Regions from separate parts of the Homo sapiens genome. Here all the other regions are linked to region 3. The links are contacts of gene promoters, found by promoter capture Hi-C in blood cells and fetal thymus (Javierre and others, 2016). All regions are on one chromosome and are shown on one strand. Each heading gives the region's core, a stretch centred on a gene start or on the middle of the fragment in contact. The rest is flanking DNA. Distances are from core to core; before and after follow the strand shown.

Region 1 (5,929 bases), core at 53-2,552, 5.1 Mb before region 3:
CACCACAGTGTTGGGAGATAGCTTGACATTCACAACTAGGCTATGATTTTCCTATCGAACACCAACTAATCAGAGAGGGTCACTCTGTGACTGTGGTGAAGCAAGGCAAAAAAAAGAAAAAAAAAAAAAAGACCAGTTTATAATTTTGTCTAAGCAGAGACAAAAACAATGCGACTGTGCAAACCACAAAACATTAGCTTTCATTATTAATAATTTTACCCAGTAGTCTGGTAACATTGATACTGGCCAGTCAGCTTGGTGAAATAATCCAAACATTTACCTATGCAGAACAGACTAAGACAAAAATAAAGTAGGCACATAATACATTTCAGCATAAAGACCATATATGTATATTATCTAGTACAGGAAGCCCACTACTATTTAGTCCTACTTCACAGATTTGATTCTTAGTTAACTACTTAATTAGATGTCTTACCAAAGAAAATGACAAGCTGTCTTGGCATGTATTTTGAAATTTAAAATAATGTGAGCTTTTTTAAAGTAACTACTCTTGGGGCTTAAAACACAATTGCATACTGTGTCTGAAATGGATTTGGCTCCTCTTCTTACACTGTCAGCAATTAACTGAAAAAATTGATAAATATTATGTAATTATCAGTTAATTACTGTTAACCCAGGCAAACAAGTTAATTTCACATAAAACATGAAATCAGGCCGGGCGCTGTAGCTCACGCCATTAAACCCAGCACTTTGGGAGGCCGAGGTGGGTGGATCCCCTGAGGTCAAGAGTTCGAGACCAGCCGGGCCAACATGGCAAAACCCCGTCTCTACTAAAAATATAAAAATTAGCCGGGCGTGGTTGTGGCGCCTGTAATCCCAGCTACTCCGGAGGCTGGAGCAGGAGAATCGCTTAGAACCTGGGAGGCGGTGGTTGCAGTGAGCAGAGATCGTGCCACTGCACTCCAGCCTGGGCGGCAGAGAGAGACACTGTCTCGAAAAAAAAAAAAAGAAAAGAAAAGAAATCAGCCACGATTCAGATTTTTAATGCTAACAAGACGTTTTGCTTTCTAAATGCACACACCTTTAATATAAGGGGTGTGAGGACAGATATTTCCACAATCTAAGTGGTGTTATGACAATAATTACGAGAGCTCAGTAATAGAAACTATGTTTAACTTTACCTCGCTAGCAGCCAGGAGTCTAGCACATTATAGGTACTAAACAATGTTGTTTAGTACCTATAATGTGGTTTTGGAGAAGCAGTGCAAACGCAGCCGGCCAGGATGCCAGCAGTGCCTGCCCACGTGAGCTAGGCGACATCCCCCTAAGCGGCTGCGGCGCATGCCCACAGCGGGCGAGGCGCTAGAGGCGGGGGCGCCGGGAGGCGCGGGCTTTGCTCCTGGGGTCTCGGCCTTGGCCGGCTGGACCTGACCCTAGGGCGGCTTGCGCAGCTGTCGGGACGTGACTGCGTTCAGCCGCGTCGGGCGTGCTTCCCAGACTTGCCCAAGTTCGGGTGCCCTAGCTGCCCCTTTGCAGCCGCTGGCCTACCCGGCCCGCGGGTGAGAAGGTTGCGACGGGAGGTGGGTGGAACTCGCCAGCGCCGGGACCGCGGATTGGCTGCCTCGGCTTTCTCTTTTCCCCGTGGGCTCCGGCGTGAGGCGCTGAAGCGGCCGGCAGCCGGCGACCGGCCCTCACCGTCCGCCGGGTTGCGCTCTGCTTTTGCGGTGAGGCGTTGACCACGCCCATATGAATTGGAGCTCTCCGCCAGTAGGAGTTTCCGGAAGGAGTTTGAATTTTTGTGATTTTTATGCTTGTTTGGTCGGTGGAATATGTTGGGATTTATGTTTGCCTCTGAACAAGTGTCTTGCTCACATCGTAAATGACTTTCTCTCCGAAACGCTAAATATTCTTTCCCGCAGGAGCTCATATCCTTATTTTCCATGACAGATCTTAACGACAATATATGCAAAAGATATATAAAGATGATAACTAATATAGTTATACTGAGCCTGATCATTTGCATTTCGTTAGCTTTCTGGATTATATCAATGACTGCAAGCACCTATTATGGTAAGTCTGAGTGTTCTAAGTTGTTTCTCTGTAATCTAGTCAGAGGAAATTAAAACCATACCATTGTGAAATCCAAAACTCATATCCTCTGAATGGTTATGAATGGTTGTGTTTACTTAACTTCCATAGCCTGATTTAACTTACTAACATGATAGTATAAACAATGCCTTTAATAAATGCTTGTTGTGATAATTCGAGTTATACCTATTTCTTTTTTTTTTTAATTTTTATTTTGTATAAGATAGGGGTCCCTCTGTGTTGCTAGGCTGGTCTCAAACCCCTAGGCTCAAGTGATCCTCCCACCTGTGTCTCCCAAAGTGCTGGCAATACAGGCCACCACTTCTGGACTAGTTACACCTATTTCAAAATGTCTTTATATTTTATGTAACTATTCCATCTGTCTTGGTAAAAGATAAGTGAGGCGAATATAGCTTTGTAAAGCAATTACAGTGATGCTTTTAATTTTGAATAAGAATATTAGTAATGGGCCAGGCGCGGTGGCTCACGCCTGTTATCCCAGCACTTTGGGAGGCCGAGGCGGGCAAATAACCTGAGGTCGGGAGTTCAAGACCAGCCTGGCCAACACGGTGAAACCCCAGCTCTACTAAAACTAGAAAAAAGCTGTAATCCCAGCTACTTGGGAGATGGAGGCAGGAGAATCACTTGAACCCTGGAGGCGGAGGTTGCAGTGAACCAAGATTGAGCCACTGCACTCCAGCCTGGGCCACAGAGCGAGAATCCGTCTCAAAAAAAAAAAAGTAGTAATGTAGTTTATCAGTTTCACATGTTCTGTAAAAATAATAAGAATTAAAAACGGTATACTATTTACATTTGGAGAGCTGAAGGACTTATCTGCCATTTGGTTGCTTCAAAAGAATAGACTCCTTTTAAAGCCTAAAGCTACATTGCTTAAATATAAGGTACTCTGGACTCAGATCTTTAAAGTTTTAAAGGTGCTTTAGAGCATAAGCCTCCATTTACACAAACTTCCTTCTCCTATGAAAACAAAATACTGGTCAGTTTGCAACAAAGGAAAAATGAAAAGGAGAATGAGAATGCTTGTATCGTAAGGGATTGCCATTTCAGACTGTAGGCTTTTTGCAAAGAGACATGTGAATAGTTGGAAAGGGTTCTCCAGGCTACAGAAGCTCTCAGTGCAGTTCGTTCATAATGATTCACAGTGGGGCATCAGAGTTTTAGGGGAGGGGTGTAAGAAAAGATTCTTGTTAGTGACAGTATTTACTATGACTTGAACTAAATGGAATAAATCAGGATTTGTAAACTGAAATATCCCTCTGGGGCCAGTCACCTAATGCAAATGAATCTGTGTACGTTTTTGTGTATTAGACCTGTGGTAATAGTTTTCATTTCCAGAAATAGGATATTTCTCATCTTTTGTTGAATGCTTGGGCCCTCTTTGTCTTTCATTTCCCCTTTATTTTTCTGAGACGGAGTTTCGCTCTTTTTGCCCAGGCTGGAGTACAGTGGCACGATCTCAGCTCACTGCAACCTCTGCCTTCTGGTTTCTCCTGCCTCAGCCTCCCAAGTAGCTGGGATTACAGGTGCCTGCCACCATGCCTGGCTAATTTTTGTATTTGTAGTAGAGACAGGGTTTCATCATGTTGGCCAGGCTGGGTCTCGAACTCCTGACCTCAGGATCCTCCTGCCTTGGCCTCCCAAAGTGCTGGGATTACAGGCATGAGCCACTGCGCCCGGCCCATTTTCTCATTTTTGATAGAAACATAGATACAAGCAGTGGTTCACAGTTTTCTTTACCATAAGGAAATCACTTTGCCTTGGCGTTTAGGAGCCTATCAGGAGGGGTGGGAACTTTAAATGGGAAAGCCACGGCCTGTTTAAAGGAGGGCACCTCTCTTTACCTTAAGTCAATTCTGCCATGTTGGCCAGAACTTCCCAATTTTAAAACAGAAGCCAAGAATCTGGATTTTTATATGATATCTCCTAATCTTTAAATATTGACTAAAATTATTTGAAAACACTCTGCTAGCCAAACATCTGTGAGCTGGATGCAGCCTCTGGAATAATCAATTTCTAACCATTGAATGAGGTGTCTGTCCTCTGACAGGCAGAGAGGAGTAAGATCCTGTTACAAAAAGAGTTCGTTCTAGGTAGTCCTTGAAATTTAATACGTGCCCCCTTTAAAAAAAATGAACCAGAGGTTCATTTTAAATATCTAGATATCCATTATTATCATAAATAGCAGTAAAAGGTTTTCAAAACTTGGACATAACCTATTTGGCCATTCTCCAGTAAGACTGTTTCTCCGAAAATATGCATGCATGTCTCAACATAAATACAGTCATGCTCTGCCTAACAATGTTTTCGTCAATGACAGACCACACATACAACATGTTCCCATAAGATTATAATACCATATTTTTACTCTACTTTTTCTATGTTTAGATACACAAATACGTTATAATTGCCTGTAGTATTCAGTACAGTAACATGCTTTACAGGTTTGTAGCCTAGGACCAATAGGCTATAGCATATAGCTTAAGTGTGTAGTAGGCTCTACCATCTAGGTGTGTGTAAGTACAGTCTGACGTTTGCATAACCATGAAATCACCTAAGGATGCATTTCTCAGAACATATCCCTATCTTTAAGTGATGCATGACTATATATTTCTTTGGTGACTTCATCTTGGTGTTTGTACTTATGACAGTATTTTAGTCTAAAAGCAGTAACGGAAGTTTACTGCCAAAACTAACCTGTGCAAACTTCACACAATTTGTGCTCCACCTTTATAATTTTTCAGGTAACTTACGACCTATTTCTCCGTGGCGTTGGCTGTTTTCTGTTGTTGTTCCTGTTCTGATCGTCTCTAATGGCCTTAAAAAGAAAAGTCTAGATCACAGTGGGGCTCTAGGAGGTATGTTTTTATTTTGAATGTTTACAGTAACTACTAAGTGCTTGCTTATATAATTTAAATTTATGTTTTCTAAATTCTGAATATATGAGACTGACTACAAATCACAGTTATATATTTTAGACAATGATAAAGTTACATCTTGCTCAGCATTCCTATTGTCAAAATTTCAGAAACTAACGTACACTTTTAGTGTAACATACAAATTAAACTCTGTGATTGATACAAAGTAGATTAATAGGATAGATGAACCTTGACTATTCTGCTCCTTTAGTTTGATTAGTCTTCTACCAGCAGAAACACTGGAGCACTCCTCCTATATGTAAAATAGAGCATTTGGAGAGAATAACTTTTGGAAATTGCTGTTAGTAATCTCAAAACAGAGCAGTCCAAACTTAGTGTTCTGGATTAATTTTCCAAAACTGAGTTGAGAACAGGATATGCATTCATTCTTTTAGCAATTTTTTTTTTCCCGAGACAGTCTTGCTCTGTTGCCCAGGCTGGAGTGCAGTGGCATGATCGGCTCACTGCAACCTCCTCCTCCTGGATTCAAGCGATTCTTGTGCCTCAGCCTCTGAGTAGAGACTACAGGTGTGTGCCACCATGCCCAGCTAATTTTTTCTGGTATTTTTATTAGAGACAGGGTTTCGCCATGTTGACCAGGCCGGTCTCGAGCTCCTGGTCTCAAGTGATCACCTGCCTGGGCCTCCCAAAGTGCTGGGATTACAGGTATGAGCCACCATGCCTGACCCCTCTTTTAGCAAATTTTTATTGAACACTTACTGGTATGTACTACTGTTCTAAAAACTTGGGATAGATCTGTAAACAAAAAGAACGTGGTGTCAGTTCTCATGGAACTTATATTCTTTAGGGCAGATAGATAATAAATAAAATATATAAAACTGTTCAGGTAATGATGAAGTTTATGAGAAAAATGAAAAGATAATTGTAAAGTGTGTATGTTGGAAGATGTAGTGCATTCTTCTGTAAATGGTGTCAGGTGCTTT
Region 2 (6,041 bases), core at 1,959-4,458, 7.0 Mb before region 3:
GTGCTGAATGACAAATCAAGGAGAAAAGAGGCAGAATAGGGTTGTAGACCAATCGTAGTAAATATTTGATACTGTTAAATATTTCACCAGTTTTATGGGGCCTTGTTCTGTTATCATTTGTTATTTATTTACTAGTACTGTGCATTTTGATAGGACTTTTCATGTTTGGACAGACAGTGTATTCCAGATGCGGCTTATGTGATCTAATCCTAAAGCCCTTGTGGAATTTATAGAAATAAACAGTTATACAATTAAGTAGTCCATTTTTTAACTATTAAATGAAAAGCCATTGCATTTTTTTCCATTACAGTAATGTTACATATTAATGTATACCTTTGTGAACCAAAGTGTTTGATACAACTCTTCCTTCTGTGTTTGGTAAACAACTCATCTGTGGTACTGAATACTTGTAATCTTTCACCAGGATGGCCATTTAATGTTTAGCTGCTTTGTGGGATTTCTGAATAGATCCTATTGTACTTTTTGAATTAGTGCAGTTATCCATATGTTTCCTTTAATATTCTTTACCTTTGATTTTGTCTAAACTCTCATCCTCCCCCAACACACACATCCTCTACAAATAATTTTTAAAATGGAAAGGTTCTTAGAAATGTTTCACCCCCTCATTTTTTAAATATGGCACGAAAAAATACTTTGTAGATTACAGTAGTTTTATATGCATTATAGTAGTTACTATACTTTTTTCCTCCTCAACAGGAGTCAGTGAACAAATTAGTGAGCTGGCTGAATGAAAAATTATTTAATGTTCAGCTCCATCACTTACTGTGCATAAAACCTTGAGTAAAACATTTAACCTGTTTGAGCTTATTTTCTCCATTTGTCAGTGGAAATACTATTAGGTTGAAATTGCTAATATTCTGCTGTTTTTTATGTTTCAACCTAATATGAACTTCATAATGGTAAGATGAGGATTTAATAACATACTCCATTAGAGATGTGGGGAAGGGGAGAAGGAACCAGTGTGAGCTTGATTGTGTGCAAGGCACTGTGTGTGCTTGTTTTCGATACCTTGACTCCTCAGTCCTCTGGACATTCCCGGGATATAGGTGGTTTATCAAATTTTACAAGTCAGGAAATGGAGGCTTAGAAAGTTGCGATAATTTGTCTATGGTTACTTAGTTGTAGGTGGTCGTACAGCTGGCCAGTGACAGAGCCGGTATTAAAAACTGTATCCGACTGCCCAAAATGGAACGTAGTGCTTTTGTTTCTTACATTCCTGGTCTGCACCTTCTATTAAAGAGCTTTGTAACTATAAGGAGGCACACAGATGACAAGTGTTACCATTTGTATTTCTGGTTTAAAAATATCCAAGTTTTCTGAAGACGGTGATACCAGCATTGCTACTACAGTTACTTTTAAGTCTAGTGCTTATCAAGCGAAGTCCTGGTGTAAGCTTTATACTCATTTACTCTCAGAGTGAGCGAGGAGATAATACTTTATCCCTATTTTGTAGTTGAGAAAATTGAGACCCTGAGACCTTATGTAGTTTGCTCAACGTCACATAGTTAATTAAGTGACAGGTCTAGATTAGATGTCAGACAGTTTGTCTTCCATGTCTGTGCTCTTAACCACTACACTCTGTCATTTCTTCATGTATAAGTGGTAATGCTAAAGAATTGTTTGCTCATAATCACTACATTATCACTTCTTTATGTGTAGCTTATAATGCTGAAGAACTTTGTAATTTAGCTTTTATGAGATACGTAATGTTAATGTAATATGTAATTCTCATTGTGTCACCAGAGATTTTTTTAAATCAAATACTCATTGAGCATCTACTCTGCAAGTCACAGTAGGGGTTAAAGGAAACTGTTCTTAAGGAATATGGAAGGTAGGGCCTTATAATCATTCCCATATCTTTTATAAGTTCTTCAAAATGTAGAACGCACTTTACATATTTTAATGAATGTCAACTAAGACAAAGTGCTAGGATAGTTGAGTAGTGGAGAGGAAGGACAGATGGATAGTGGGTAGAGATATTTGTGCATTGAGGTAATGAGGGAAAGCTTTGAAGATATTCCAAGGGAGTACGCTTTTTCACACTAAACTTTTTTCCGATATAATTCTGATTAAGATGCAGTTCATCAAAGGATAGTAAATTGGTTACTACGCATTTGATATCCTAAAAACAAAATATCTGAGCTTTTGTAAACTGCTTTCTAGCTTGTTTCTCCTTTTTTATGCTACTATCCTTAGTTGTACCAGATGGTACTCTTTTTAAAAATTTTATGCTTTTATAATACTGAGTACCTCTTTTTTGGTATTTATGAACTTTGATATTTGTGTTGTATTTGTAATTGTTTCTAGGGCCCTAGAAACATGTTTATTGGCAAGGTGGTCTCTTCCTCTAGTCTACAAGTGCTTCGAGAGTAGGGCTTACCTCATTTTATAGCTTTAACATCGGGCCAGGTAAGTACTGTGCTGTGTTTGGTGATGGATGATCAGTTGAAGAATGTTAGGATGTTTTGAAGCTGCTCTAGCAGTAGAAATTGAAATGAACATTGAGAAATGAAGGGACAAAGGAAGGAAGAGGAAGATATTTATACAACTGGGAGCATTAACTTGCTATCTCTATTTTCCCTTCTGCTTTCCTTTTCAACTTACCACTAAATGAGGTAGTTTTATAAGCTTACATCGTACATAGTCATGGTTAGAGAAAAGTGGAAAAAGTAATCTGATTTATCTTAGAATATAGGGCAACACGAAATTAGATAACTATAGCCGTAAACTGATATTACTTAGAGGAAAAAGAATGAAAATTATTCAAATAGTTCAAGTTCATGAAAGATTTGATGCTTGTCGTTAACAGTAGGATTGTAAATATAATCATAATGGCAGTTGATGAAATTCCTCTGAGGGGTATGGATACATACACAAATAAGTATATGAATTGACAGCTTAGTATGAAGAAACTATTCAAGAATGTGAGAATGCCCTATGAGCATAAAGGAGCATATAGATGATAGCTTAGAACCACTTAAATAAGTGAATTGTAATTTGATATGCCCAGATAAAAGTAATAGTATTGAATATTTGTTTGGGAGCATCTGGTTGTCAGATAAGGATAAAGTATAAAAGAAAAACCAAAATAAGTTTGAAAAAACAATAAGCAAATTTGTATCAATTCCCTGTGGGGAAAAGAATCATATTTGAACTACATGCCTCATAAAGACTAGTTTTCCCTTTCTTTCCTTTTACCTAAGATAAATAAAGATACCTTCTGATTTGTAAGACAAACCCCTCAGTATGCTTTTGCTATTTCCCCCATTACATTTTTTTCTTTCTTAGATCTTTATAAAATCATACATTTATGTTGTGCTTTACAATGTATACATTTTTACATTGATATGCCATTTGATTTTCTCAAATGTAGGCAGGGGAGATAATATCACTACCATTATAGATGTCAAAACTGAACCTTAGAGAGATTAAATGACTTGCGTCAGTTCACACAGCTTGTCAGTGACAGAATCTGAACTAGAAGGAAGGTTTTCTGAAGTTAGTCTGTTAAAATGCTCAGGTTTTCTCAAACTTCAATTTCTCCAGTTTTGATACTCTCGCAAAGTATTTACTGTTTCATTTCTATCTTTTTCAGCAAAAATGTAGCCTGAATAACTGTCTCCACTCTTTACCGCTTTGCTATTCATTCCTTCTCTAAAGACTCTTGTTTATTTATTTAGTCAGTGCGTATTTCAGCACCTGTTGAATGTTTAGTTGGCATATATTCTTAAGAGAATATGTAAAATGAAGCTTCCATTATTGAGAAAAAGAAATTTGGAAAATGATTTTTTTAAAAAATTATACTTTTAAGTTCTGGGATACATGTGCAGAATGTGCAGGTTTGTTACATAGGTATACACGTGCCATGGTGGTTTGCTGCACCGGTCAACCCATCATCTACCTTAGGTATTTCTCCTAATGCTATCCCTCCCCTAGCCCGCCACTCCCCCACAGGCCCTGGTGTGTGATATTCCCCTCCCTGTGTCCGTGTGTTCTCATTGTTCATCTCCCACTTATGAGTGAGAACATGCGGTGTTCTGTTAATTTAAATAAATATTTAATTACAAATAAATATTTGTAATTAAATATTAGCTCATTGTATTATTACAAATAATTATTTGTAATTAAATATAATATTAGCTCATAAGTTCAGAACATTTTCTGAAAACTGTCAACATAACACACTGCAATAACTAACATCTCTACACATGTCAGGTTGTACATTGAAGTGTTGTGGAATTAGGCCGGGCATGGTGGCTCACACCTGTAGTCCCAGCACTTGGGAGGTTGAGGCAGACAGTTACTTGAGGTCAGGAGTTCGAGACAAGCCTGGTCAACATGGCAAAACCCCATCTCTACTAAAAATACAAAAAATTAGCTGGGTGTGGTGGCAGGCGCCTGTAATCCCAGCTATTCAGGAGACAGATGTTGCAGTGAGCCGAGATTGTGCCACTGCACTCCAGCCTGGGCGACAGAGCGAGACTGCATCTCAAAAAAAAAAAAAAAAAAGTATTGTGGAATTAGTGGGAATTCATTTGTGATCTATTATAATAAAAATGGGAAAATTGTGTAGCCTGATTGACCATTTGAGTAATTTTGCCCTTGGGCTATTAATTACATTTGCATTTATAAACATAGAATGCTTCTTAAAAGATAAATGTGATTTTTTTTGTCATAACTAAAATGCTAGTTTGGGAAGCCAACTTTAAAATTATTATGAAAGCTAATGAAAAAATGATTTTATATATATACTTGTTTTGTTTTTTCCTCCTTTATTATACAGTATTTGAATAAATTTTGAACTTTCCTTTTTATTTTGAGAGCACTATAAATTATGGAGAGTTTCAAATAAGGTAAGTAGACACAATAGTATAATGAACCTAAAAGTTTCCATCATGTAGCCCAGTAACTATCAACAGTGATCAGTCCTCATCCATCCACTTCTCCCACTTCTATATTATTTTGAAACAAATTGCAAGTCCTGTGTAATTTCACCTGTAGGTATTTCAGTATTTCCCAAAGATAAGAGCAGTTAACTGCAGTACTTTTACAAACTTTGTTCTTTATTTATTTTTTCATTTTAATCTACATTTCCTGCTTTTATTATTACAAATTTTCAAAAATTAACACTAATTCCTTGGTATAAAATATCTACACTTTTTAAAAAAATACACAGGAATATGGGTACTATAGTAAATTCAAGTTTCTGTTTATTTTGATTTATGTGCTGTTTTTTTTTTTCCAAGTCCTGTAAGGAGCTGAATAAGTATTAAATTCTGGCATAGTAACAAAACAGAGGAGGAAATGATAACAAAAATAATATAGGGGAAAATAATAGAACACAAAGCAATAGCAAATGCTCATTTCAATAGCAGTGCTTTAGAGAAACTTCAGTTTTGTCTTTGTGAAAGTAAGAGAAGGGTTCAGAGATTAAACATTATTATTCTGTTTGGATTGTTCACTTCTTTTTTTTTAAACTTTAAGTTCTGGGATACCATGTGCAGAACATGCAGGTTTGTTACATAGGTATACACGTGCCATGGTGGTTTACTGCACCCAGGATTGTTCACTTCTTAGAGATCCTTTGCTGTGCTTTAACCTTTATTCCCATCTCCCTACTCCCTATCCATTTCAGCTTCTAAGTGTATCTCAGATGTAGTGGAGTTAGGTGTTAGAGTCAGACACACCAGAGTTTGAATACTAGCTCTGTTACTTTTTGTGTATTTGACAAAATTAATCTCTCTCAGCCTCTTTTTTTTATATATCTGTAAAGTAGGGATAAGAACCATTTCAAATGAATGCTCTGAAGATTAACTGGAATAATTGTGTGTTTGTGAATAAATATAAATGAAGCTGTTCTGAATGTTTTCCATACGTATATATGCCTCCATCCCCTCATTCCCAGTGCATGACCTTGGCATTAGATCAGACAGTAATCGTTTAACCAGCCTCTAGTCTCCAGTGAAGTTCTCATTGCCTTGGGAGTCATTTTTAAATGACTACATTACAATACATCTATA
Region 3 (6,022 bases), core at 1,453-3,952:
TTCTTTTATGAATACTCCACATCATATACCTGTACCAATATTCCTAATACATGGGTACCTGAAACATTTTCTCCAGTTTTCCATGCCTAGTTTCTTTACACTCTCACTTCATTCAATGCTTTATTAATATTTATGCCACTTAACTTTTTCAGTCGGTGTCCTTTATTTACTCTAATCTTCTATTTCTAGTCAATGCAAGACATAAAGGTAAGGAAGGGCAAGATTCAAAATTGAGATTTTTGGCCGGGCGCAGTGGCTCACGCCTGTAATCCCAAGATTTTGGGAGGCCGAGGTGGGTGGATCACGAGGTCAGGAGTTCGAGACCAGCCTGACCAACATGGTGAAACCCCATCCCTACTAAAAATACAAAAATTAGCAGGGCATGGTGGCGCGCCCTTAATCCCAGCTACTCAGGAGGCTGAGGCAGGAGAATCGCTTGAATCTGGGAGGCAGAGGTTGCAGTGACCTGAGATCTCGCCACTGCACTCCAGCCTGGGCCGCAGAGCAAGAAAGACTCCGTCTCAAAAAAAAAAAAAAAAAAAAAATTGAGATTTTTGGCTGGGTGCGGTGGCTCACGCCTGTAATCCTAGCAATTTAGGAGGCAGACGCGGGTGGATCACCTGAGGCCGGCAGTTCCAGACCATCCTGACCAACATGGAGAAACCCTGTCTCTACTAAAAATACAAAATTAGCCGGGCATGGTGGCGCATGTCTGTAATCCCAGCTACTTGGGAGGCTGAGGCAGGAGAATCGCTTGAACCTGGGAGGTGGTGGTTGCAGTGAGCCGAGATCGAGCCATTGCACTCCAGCCTGGGCATGAGTGAAACTCAGTCTCAAAAAAAAAAAAAAAATTGAGATTTTTGAGTGAAAATGACTTATGTCCATGTTAACATATGACTGAAAACAATTCGATGCTCCAAGGGCCGACCCTGAGACTATCTAGCTGTAAAAGATGACTCCTAGTTTGGGCCAGGACGAACAGAATGAAAATCAGCTCGGACTGAAATGAGAAAAAGTAGTTGTGCTGGGAGGACAGATACAGAAAAAGCCAGCAGCAAAGTTAACTGAGAAACTTCTTTCTCCCACAGCCGTGCAGTAGCTATGACACGCCATATTCACCCCTCTTTGAGTAACTGCTGCTCTTACTAGTGTTGCTACTTTATTACTGGAGGTACCTAATTACTAAATTGCTGTATCCTCAAGACAGCATCCAATCCCTCGTAAATCCCAGCTTTTCTTCATGCCGCCACGGAAACGGCGTCCCATGCAGAACTGATTCTGGCTCTCCTTAGACCCTCCTCAGACTCCTTTGGCGGGAAACTAATCTTACAAAGGAGGCTTCCTCTTTCCTTTTCCAGTGGCATTCCAAGCTTCCTTTGGAGTGCCCTCCCTCCTGATTTACAAATTGGCCTGACGTTATCGGAGTACAGGCTTTTTCCTGGTGGTTTCTGGCCTAACAGGAGACAGATTAGTAAGTACCAGGATCTCTAATAGGTCAACTTTCATGATCTCTGCTAAATTCTCAGCTGTTTAGACTTACAATTTTTAACAGCTAAAAGGAAAGACAAATGCTATCTAAAACTGTCCCATCAGCCCATTTACAGGGAGCACCTCCCCCATACCGCCCTAAAATCCTTTAAAAAATGGCTTTAGTCATTTTATCTGCCTTGCATTTAAGCGAATTCAGTTTAAGTGGCTTCAGTTCTGAATTCCTGGATTATATCGAAATGTTGCAGATGGCGGTGTGTGGGCTTTGAGCTCGTAAATTTTTTGTGTGGTACTAATTCAAGACGATTGAGAGCAGGTTGGGATCATTTTAAAAAGAGTTCTCGGCAGGGTGTGGTGACTCAAGCCTGTAATCCCAGCACTTTGGGAGGCCGAGGCGGGCGGATCGCTTAAGGTCAGGAGTTCGAGACTAGCCTGGCCAACATGGTGAAAACCCGTCTCTACTAAAAATACAAAAATTAGCCGGGCGTGGTGGCGTGCACCTGTAATTCCAGCTACTCGGGAGGCTGAGGCAGGAGAATCGCTTGAACCGGGAGGCAGAGGTTGCAGTGAGCTGAGATCGCGCCATTGCACTCCCGCCTGGGCGGCAAGAGCAAAACTCTGTCTCATTAAAAAAAAAAAAAAAAAAAAAAAAAAAAAAAAAAGGGTTCTCTAGTAGGAAGTCCCGAGTTGTATCCATGTTTTTCCGGGCGTCCCCCGGAGGGACAGGTTGCGGGTGACCTTTTCAAGTGTGGAGGAAAGGGAAGCTGCTTTTGTCTTCAGGAATGATGCAGGTCTCGACTCAAGCCTGACGGGCCCAAACCTCCCTGGAGCTGGCTGACGACTCTGCCCGAGTTCCTGAAGAGGGGTCCCGGGGGTCCCGGAGCGGAAGTGGGAGCGCGTGGGCGTGGGCTCCTCGGCTGCCTGGGGCTCCAGACTTGTGCTGCGTGCGGCTCCGGAGCTCTGTTCTCGCTCCTGAGCAGCTGCTAGGTTTCCCAAGCGACTGTCTCAACCGCCCGGCCGCCTCCCCCGGGCAGCCAGAGCTTCACATCTACCTCCAGCCGGGACCCGCCCCCGAGCCGCGGGGCCCACGCCCAGAGCCCTCCGCCGTCCCCAGCGCAGTGCAGCAGAGCGCGATCCAGTCTGGGGCCGGGCCGCGCTTCCGCGCACGCGCGGAGAAACCCGCGCCCTCCGAGGGGGGAGGGGACAGAGGGGGCGTCACGGGGGCAGGAGAAGAAGGAGGAGGAGGCCCGCGTCGCCTCCGGCGGGGCTCGCGCTCGCCCCGCGCTCGCCCTCCGCCTCGCCCGAGCCCCGGGAGGGTGAAACGCTTTCTCCCAGCATGCAGCGGGAGGAGGGATTTAACACCAAGATGGCGGACGGCCCGGATGAGTACGATACCGAAGCGGGCTGTGTGCCCCTTCTCCACCCAGAGGTGAGGAACCGTGCTGAGTGGATTCCTTGCCCTGCGGCCCTCCAGCCTTTCTTCCCCGGACTCGCCGAGGGCGGCGGCCGACGTGTGTGGGGTAGTGGGACGTGCCGAAGTTGGGGAGGGTGGGGAGGCGAATCCAGGCCTGAGCGCGGCTGCGAGCGGATAACGGGGGAGGAGATAGCGGGGCGGGCCCGACCGGGGCGGGCTCTGGGACGCAGTCCCTGGCTGTGCCTGGAGGACAGAGGTGGAGGTGTTGATGGTTCTGCTGTGTCGCCGCGCTGCGTTTGAGAGCAGAGGCGGAGGGGCCTGGTGTGGTTTTTGAACCGCAGCTTAGACCCTAGTCTTGCTCCAAGCCTCTTGGGGCCAGGTGGAAGCGCGTCTGGTTTTGATTTCTTTTTCCTTCGCCAGGGTGAATGACGGTATCTATTGCTTCCTTTTAGTCCACTGTGAGGGGACAGTTTCATGGGCATAGTGATGTCCTTCCAGGTAATGCCATGGGTAGCACCTCGGGCACCTTGTGTCGGGCGTCCTTTTTTGAGCATTTGTCCTTAAGCGATTAAGAAGAGAGGTAAAAACTTTTGGGAATAGACTTACACTCACATTAGCTTGTCAAAGTACCGTTTTTCTAGGAGCTAGGGGTGGACAGTGCAACACGTTTCCCATCACAACATGAGTGTCTTCCCATGTAAGTAAACAGTGCCCCGCTCCACAGTCAGTCAGTCTGTGCTTGTTTACCTCCGAGTTTGTAGCTGAGCTAGTGCTAGTTAAGGCTTGGAAGCAATTCTTGATGCATTCTGATTTTTAGTGATCCACAGTGATGTCTGTATGCGGCAGCGGCACAGTTTGCTGAAGAACTCGGGTAGTTTTCATGAGGTTAAAAGATGACAGTCGTGTTGTAGGATGAACAAACATGGAAGTCTCTACCTGGTTACTTTGCAATGGAGTGATTCTGTTTTTTTCTGGATTTGGGTTTGTACCATGCCACTAGTTTTTGTTAAAAAGTGAATAATGACAACCATCCTTTTATGTTGCATGTTAACACTCAACCACCCTCTCATTCGTCACTTTGGTTTATCAAAAACACATGGGACAGTTCCTTCGGAATATATACCTGTGCCAGTCTCAGTAGAAAAGGCTACTCTGGGTTTCTGATAAACAGAACTATACAGTAAGACTAAACACTTGTCTGACCAAAGTGGTAACATTTTCAGAACTGGCATTGTAGACATCTCTTTTGGTTCACTTAGGCCCTAACATACGTCAGGAAATAGACAAAGTAGTTTTCAGATGTTGCCTTGAAAATGTTGCTAAGTGATTTCTATTCATCTGTTCCTGTGAAAGTATTCGTGAAAGTATTTCAAACACTTAAGTGTTTATCCAGTTTATTTTTTTGAGACGGGGTTTCTCCCTGTCCCCCAGGCAGGAGTGCACTGACACGATGACAGCTCACTGCAGCCTCTACCTCCAGGGCTCAAGTGATCCTCTCCCCTCAGCCTCCTGAGTAGCTGTGACCACAGGCTCGCGCCACCATACCCGGCTGATTTTTTTATTATTTGTAGAAGAAGAGGTCTCCCTATGTTGTCTAGGCTGGTCTTGAACTCTTGAACTCAAGTGGTCCTCTCACCTTAGCTACTTAAAGTGCTGGGATTACAGGCATGAGCCACCATGCCAGGCCTATCTTACGTATTTTAGCATACTGTTCTTCATAAACCTTTGCTTTGTAATATAGTACTGTTGTTTGCTACTTTAAGAATAATTTTAACTGGCAACAAATCCAGATTATTTGGTGTAGTAGAATGGCCAGTATAGGCTTGAAATTTAGCTACCGATCTTCAGGTTGCCATTCGATAGATAGGATATTACTAGAAAGTCAACCTCCTCATCATTGATAGTGGGAATTGGCATACATAATATATACCGTTCCTTTTTACCCAAGAAGCACAAGGTCTGATTATTTTAATACTTTGGATGGACCTTAAGCTTGTACTACATGGCTGAGGTCTTTCTGCATTTTCTGTGGTTAGTGTGTGCAGCTGGTGCAGACCTGGGGTAGTTCTGCTGCCTCCTAGCAGTGTGTTCTTGGGCAAGCTATGAATACGTCTCTGAGTTCTAGTTTCATCATTTATAATGGATAAAAATAATAGTTAATAAGCTATAGCGAGGATTAACTGAGATAATATGTTTTTGTTGTTAAAATAAGCAGTGTTTTCAGTCTCCTTTGGGAAGAAACCCATTCTCTGTCTTGGTAAGTAATGAAATAATAGTACTTTTAACCTCTTTTTGGAGAGAACATAGACTTTGGGTCAGACAGACTTGGATTCTAATTCTGGAAATTCGGTAACTAGCTAAGTGACCTGAGACAAGTGCTTAATTTCTTTAAGCTTCAGTTGTAATCAGAAAATGGAGATCCTGGCTGGGCTCGGAGGCTCACACCTGTAGTCCCAGCACTTTGGGAAGCCGAGGTGAGAGAATCACTTGAGCCCAGGAGTTCGAGACCATCCTGGGCAACATGGCAAAACTCTGTGTCTACAGAAAATACAAAAATTAGCTGAGCATGGTGGTACACGCCTGTAGTCCCAGCTAATCGGATGCTGAGGTGGGAGGATTGCTTGAGCCTGGAAGGTTGAGGCTGCAGTGAGCCATGATCGAGCAGCTGTACTCCATCCTGGGTGACAGAGCAAGATTATGTCTCAAAAAAAAAAAAAAAAGAAAAGAAAAGAAAATGGAGATGCTGCCTAGTTTACTTGGCTGTAAGGGATTAAGTGAGGCTATATGTTGAGGGTCAAGAACTGGCACATTGTAGGTGCTCAGTTAATGTTACTTCTTTTTTCTCTACCAGAAGAAAGGGAAGTGTTACACATTTATTTTGGTTTTGGTGACTGATTTAAAACTTATGTGGGTTTTAATTTAGTGGAATAGGATCTTGCAGGAACAAATTTCATTTCACTTTTTATCTTCCAATTTAATACTCTCACACAAAAACAGTTTTTCACTTTAGTATTTGTTAAGCAGATGAATTATTTGTGGGTAAAGAAATGAGCATTGCTTAAATCTCTTATTAGTATGCAAACTGCCCACTGTTAAAACCTTTCTTAGAGGATTATACAA
Region 4 (5,768 bases), core at 2,731-5,230, 5.0 Mb before region 3:
AATTCACAAACGTAGTGCAAGAACAGGGGGAGAAAGGAAGAGTCATTCCAAAAACTAGGTCTCATATACATTATAAGTAGTCCATAAACTCAACTTTATAACCACCACAAAATGGGTGAGGTTGTTCTTTCCCGCCTACAGAATTAAAGCTGCATTTTACCTCTGTGCAACAATTTTTCCCCATTTGATATTGTGCTGCATGTTCATTGTTAACTTGATTTCACCTGTATAATTATTCCTGTTTTTTACTGGGGGAAGAGGAGCTACATGAATTTGCACCCTATCATGCCTCAGTCCTCACCATTCAGGAATATGTTTTGAGTTATGCACTCACTGAAGTGTCCCCATATTTTTGCAGCTCTTCTCTACGGAGGAACTGGAGCTCTAGTGTTTTTTTTTTTTTGTGGCAGTCCGTGTTAAGTTTATACAGACCAATCATAGTTGACTCTAAGACTGACCTAAATTCTTAAGGGCGTAGAATCTATCCCAGAATTGGCCTGAATCTCTTTCAATGCTTTGACTGTTATGGGCTACTTGTTTTCTCACAACATACTTAAGTACGTTTCTTATGGCTGCTGTAACAAATGATCACAAACTTGGTAGCTTAATACAACACACATTTATTCTCTTTTAGTTCTGGAGGTCAGGAATCAAAATTAGTTTCACTAGGCTAAAATCAGCATATCTGCAGGGCTGAACCCCCTCCAGAGGCTCTAGGGGCTTCTTGTCTTTTCCAGCTCTGGTGGCTGTAAGCATTCCTTGGCTTATGGCTACATTGCTCCATAATCTGCCTCTATGGTCACACTGCCTTCTCCTCTTCTGGGTGTGAAGCATCTCTTTCTGCCTCTCTCTTATAAGGATACTTGTGATTGCAGTTAGGGCCCACCCAGATAATCTCCCCATCTCAAGATCCTTAACTTAAATCAAAAAGACCTGTTTCCCAAATAAGGTAACATCTACAGGCTCCGGAATCTAGGAGCTGATATCTTTAGGGGCCGTTATCAGCCTATTACAATTTACATCTATATTTACCCACTCTGTGCTCAAAAGTATGCCAACCTACTTATTGTAACCCATGAAAACTTGCACTACCTTCTTAAATGTCAACGTAAGCTAAATGTAAAAACTTATTTTAACTTCGAAAATTATTTTGGCTGAGTGTGGTGGCTTATACCTGTAATCCCAGCACTTTGGGAAGCTGAGGCTGGAGGATTGCTTGAGCCCAGGAGTTCAAGACCAGCCTGGGCAACACAGCAAGACACGCAAGATATCGTCTCTACAAAAAAAATTAAAAAATTAACCAGGTGTGGTGGCACACACCTGCAGTCCCAGCTACTCGGGAGGCTGAGGTGGGAGGATTGCTGGAGCCCAGGAGGTTGAGGTTGCAGTGAGCTGTGATTGTGGCACTGTACTCCAGCCTGGGCAGCAGAGTGAGATCCTGTCTCACAAAAAAATTATTTTGTTTTACAATAAAAAAATTTTTAATTGCTTTGATTTAGTGATAAATGCAAAGTAATGCATTTAGTTTCTAAGATGACCAAGCTGTTAAATAATCAAATGCACACAATTTGAAAAGTTGTTGAAAGGATTGGCTGTATCAAAAAGAAGAAAGGAGAAGGCTTAAAGGAAGAACACACAGCCTTCTTCATATGTTTATAGGGAATAGGGATTCGATATATAATGTATAAATATAAACAGAAATAATTAATTGCAGGTGAAGAGAGGCAGATTTCAATCCAATATGAGGAAGTGCTCAGAAAGAACAATGGAAGGTGCTCTCTCAAAATGAAGTTCTTTTCTAGTTCTGGAAGTGTCTATAAATGTGCAAAGACCCTAAGGGGAGGAATGTGGAGGAGAGAGTTGGAAAATATATCTTTAGATACAATCATGAGGATATTTTATAAAACATAGAGTCTCTTTAATGGTTGGTTCTAAACAAATCTAAAATATTATCCTTCTCCAATTCACTTTTCAAATGATAGCCAGAGTGGTCAAATCTGATTATGTCAGTCATCTTACGAAAATCCTTCATTTGCTTAAAGACCCTTTCAGTATTGATCCCCAACTTCCTCATGGTCTCTTCTGGAGTTTTTTTTTCCTCCCTAAATTCTAGTCACATTTACAGTTGCTCAACTTTAGATGCTCCTTCCTATCTAAAGCCATTGAACATGCTGTTATCTCTGTTTGCAGAGCTCTCCTGTCCTTCCTGACTAGGTTACTCTTACCCAAAGATAACTTTCTCCAGGGAAAGCTTCTCTAGCATGCTAAATCAGTTGGGTTCTCATATATGCTTGCAAGATACTCTGAACTGTTTCATCAAGATGAAAGCATTTATTGTACAATTGAGTATGTCTGTCTTCCCTGATAAAATGTAAGCTCTGTGAGGACAGAGACATTTTATCTTGTTGATCACAGTGCCTGGCATATGGTGGGCACATTTAAATATTTGTTGAATGAATTAACCGACTCTCTTTTTTTTTTTTTTTTTTTTTGAGACGGAGTCTTCCTCTGTCGCCAGGCTAGAGTGCAGTGGCGCGATCTCGGCTCACTGCCACCTCTGCCTCCCGGGTTCAAGCGCTTCCCCTGCCTCAGTCTCCCGAGTAGCTGGGATTATAGGCTTGTGCCACCATGCCCAGCTAATTTTTTGTATTTTAGTAGAGATGGGGTTTCACCATGTTGGCCAGGATGGTCTCGATCTCCTGACCTTGTGATCCGCCCGCCTCGGCCTCCCAAAGTGCTGGGATTACAGGCATGAGCCACCACGCCCGGCCTCTTTTTTTTTTTTTAACCTGGTTTGAAGTGTGAAAGAAGTTTGATTTTTAAAAAAATGTTTACCTGACACCAGGTTTCCAGTAAATTTTCAGAAATATTAGTATGATTTCTTGGAGGAGTATGGTTTCTTGGAGGCAGGCCGGGCGTGGTGGCTCACACCTATAATCCCAGCACTTTGGGAGGCCGAGGCAGGTGGATCACTTGAGGTCAGAGTTCAAGACCAGCCTGGCCAACATGGTGAAACCCTGTCTCCACTAAAAATACAAAAAGTAGCGGGGCGCGGTGGTGGGCGCCTATGGTCCCAGCTTCTCGGGAGGCTGAGGCAGGAGAATCACTTGAACCAGGAGGCAGAGACTGCAGTGAGCTGAGATCACGCCACTGCACTCCAGTCTGGGCGACAGAGCGATACTCCATCTCAAAACTAACAATACAAACAAACAAAAAAGAATGGGGATGCAGATGAGAAAAAACAAGCAATCATCGAACAAGCCACCTCAAGGTGGAGTACCATGGAACGTCAGAGGCTTCATGAAAGTCAGAAAAACTGAAGAGCACTTGGGGTTAGGAATTCAAAGGTGGGCAGCTCTTATACAGACCTTGCCCTCAACAAACCTATAGTCTAATGAGAGTCGATAAACACTTAGCAAAGTATTAATAATATCCATGGAGTGTGTAAAGCCCTAGTAAAGGAGGTATACTGGTGGTAAGAAATACCTAATTTTGTGAGGTGGGGGAATGGAAGGATGGGGGAAGGATTGGGTGGTCAGGGACGCGGTTTAAGCTGAGACTTGAAAGATGATGGAGTAGTTGACCAGGCGGTCAGAGGAACTTGGAAGCGCTATGATTCGGGATCCCACAGAGAGAGATTCAAGGGCACCTTGGCAGATATGGTTTACAGTGACCTCTGGTGTGACAGATCATTAGCATTGTGAACATGCAAAAACGATGAAGTTCTGCCCTTCATTTCACCAGAGCTGGGCTCGCCTCAAATTCCTGGTTCCTTATTCCCGCTGGCTCCCACCAACTGAAAAGCAGAGGTGGCTCGCAAGCGGCGGGGCTCTGCCCTAGATTGCCAGTAGGCGCTCGACTCACATCCAGCTCCACCCCGGGAGATGCCCCAGAAGCCCCGCCCACGTCCAGGCACGTTCTTCTGGGGCTAGTCGCAGGGGCCGCCCCGGCACCGGCGCTCACGTGACCCGAGGTGTGACGTAGGAGGAAGGAGACGCCATTAGAGGGAGGCAGAGAGGGATCGTTCTTCGCTTTTCCTCCGGTGCCTGACGTGGTGGGCTGGGGCCCTTCATTCTCGGACTTTCCCTCAGCCCTTCCAGGCCTCGCCCGAGGAGGGCGTGGGGACAGCGCCCGGGTCGGCGGGGCCGGGGCGGTGGGGGCTGAGCCGGCCGTGGCTGTGAAGGCGCTGCCGCGGCTGTCGGGAGGGCGGCGCGACACTCGGGCTCGGGCGGCCGGGAAGCGACGGGATGGCTGCGGCCGGCGGCGGCGGCGGCGGGGCGGCGGCGGCGGGCCGAGCCTACTCGTTCAAGGTGGTGCTGCTGGGGGAAGGCTGCGTGGGGAAGACGTCGCTGGTGCTGCGCTACTGCGAGAACAAGTTTAACGACAAGCACATCACCACTCTGCAGGTGCGGACCTCGGGGAGCGGGAGGGGGCGCCTCAGGGCCCCTACCCCTCCGGGGCTGGGGAAACTTTGCCGCCCTGGTCCCCTGGATGTAGGCTGGCAAATCTCAGGCCTGTCATCTCCGCCTTCGGTTTACCTTTCCGAATTCGCCCTGGGGAATCACCAGGTCGGGGCAGCCTGTAGACGCGAGGACAGGCTGTTGGGAGGGAAGTGGAAGGGCCCTGAAAAGTCCCCAGTGTTCCCCGTGGTGGCTGCGCACGTTGTGGTCTCCGTCCGTGGGCTGTTTTTTCCCATTTACTGCAGTTCCTGGGTCCCAGGTGTCAGTGTTGCAGTCTCCAAATGTTAGCTCCTTTTCTTTCTTTCAGAATTAGGAACTTAGCTGCGTATTTGATTTTGCGAATTAGGTGATTTGTAACTTCAGCGCTTACTGATGACTAAGTGTTTATGCAAGTTCCATTTTGTCCTGAGTAACAGGAATGGCAAAAGAGCCATCTCTGGAGGTTTTTTGAAATGACCGCTTGCCTAGGCGTGTTACGCAGTTTCATTGCAGCCTGCGTGGGTCTGACTTGCGGGTCACTCATATTCTGCGAGGTCGATTGACCCACGCTGAAACATCAAGTGAATACTGGCCAACAATTGGTCCCCAGACTAAAAGCCGCTGCTGTTACTCAGTTTCTTTACCTGTAAAATAAAAGGTCGGCTTTCTTCCACAGGTACATTGGAAAGGTGTTAAAATGTTATCATTGATTGAGAGTGAAGCCAGGCCTTTGAGGGAGTTGTACTCACCCCACCTCTCCCAGAGAAATCAGTTTTGATGTTATTAGGAGAAATTTATCCTACTAATTTGACTTACCAATTTGGTCAAAGGCAGTAAAGTCTAGTGGACTTTTGAGCCTGATTGTCCAGGTTCATGTCTCACCTCCATCCATTTAACTAGCTGTGTCATACTGGGTAAGTTACTTAACCTGTCTGTGCCTGTTTCTTCTGTTAAAATGGCCATAATAGTAGTATCTAGCTCATAGGGTTGTCAGGATAAATATACAGAAAAAGCACTGATGACCTGGTCCAGTGTAAGTTGTCTGCCTTTAATTACCGCCCCAACTTGCACAATAGGTCTTAATTAGTAAATGTGTAGTATGTGAGAACATCGACACTACTTAATAGAATGCGTAATCTCCTAATTGTTGTGACATTGGATGTTTGATGCTATTATTAAACTACTGAGTCTAGAATTTACAAGACGCTCTGGCTCTGATTCCATGTTCTATTTTTACTCCTCTGATTTTACTCGTATGTAAAGCATATCTGAAAAAGTGAGTGCCAGGAAACTGCATTTTTAAAAAATCCTTGTACCAGAACACTGACA

The links. The method cuts DNA at HindIII sites, captures the fragments that hold promoters and counts their contacts. A CHiCAGO score of 5 or more calls a contact.
Region 1: the fragment with the promoter of TMEM19 here is called in contact with the fragment with the promoter of ZDHHC17 in region 3 in 2 of 17 cell types (total B cells and non-activated CD4 T cells); the score reaches 7.1 in total B cells.
Region 2: a fragment that was not itself captured here is called in contact with the fragment with the promoter of ZDHHC17 in region 3 in 1 of 17 cell types (total CD4 T cells); the score reaches 5.4 in total CD4 T cells.
Region 4: the fragment with the promoter of RAB21 here is called in contact with the fragment with the promoter of ZDHHC17 in region 3 in 5 of 17 cell types (non-activated CD4 T cells, activated CD4 T cells, naive CD8 T cells and 2 more); the score reaches 11.2 in non-activated CD4 T cells.

Annotation. Positions count from the first base shown.
Region 1 is chr12:71,684,780-71,690,708 of GRCh38, forward strand. It overlaps TMEM19 (transmembrane protein 19), which reads left to right and starts at 1,303. Exons shown (of 6, transcript NM_018279.4): 1 at 1,303-2,031; 2 at 4,812-4,925. The coding sequence starts at 1,902. It overlaps LOC124902965 (a long non-coding RNA gene), which reads right to left and starts at 1,285. Exons shown (of 2, transcript XR_007063367.1): 1 at 1,143-1,285. RefSeq lists silencers at 1,575-1,644, 1,635-1,850 and an enhancer at 3,199-3,268. The HindIII fragment of the contact is 11,589 bases long and covers 1-5,929 here.
Region 2 is chr12:69,740,180-69,746,220 of GRCh38, forward strand. All of the region lies in intron 1 of RAB3IP (RAB3A interacting protein), which reads left to right. Among named protein-coding and RNA genes, the nearest start is that of RAB3IP, 4.3 kb to the left of the region's middle. The HindIII fragment of the contact is 1,122 bases long and covers 2,648-3,769 here.
Region 3 is chr12:76,761,413-76,767,434 of GRCh38, forward strand. It overlaps ZDHHC17 (zDHHC palmitoyltransferase 17), which reads left to right and starts at 2,703. Exons shown (of 17, transcript NM_015336.4): 1 at 2,703-2,917. The coding sequence starts at 2,825. RefSeq lists enhancers at 2,201-2,300, 2,597-2,891, 2,867-3,709, 2,901-3,050 and a silencer at 2,441-2,850. The HindIII fragment of the contact is 3,524 bases long and covers 1,369-4,892 here.
Region 4 is chr12:71,750,883-71,756,650 of GRCh38, forward strand. It overlaps RAB21 (RAB21, member RAS oncogene family), which reads left to right and starts at 3,981. Exons shown (of 7, transcript NM_014999.4): 1 at 3,981-4,406. The coding sequence starts at 4,248. RefSeq lists enhancers at 3,753-4,042, 4,683-4,872 and a silencer at 4,023-4,302. The HindIII fragment of the contact is 5,965 bases long and covers 2,250-5,768 here.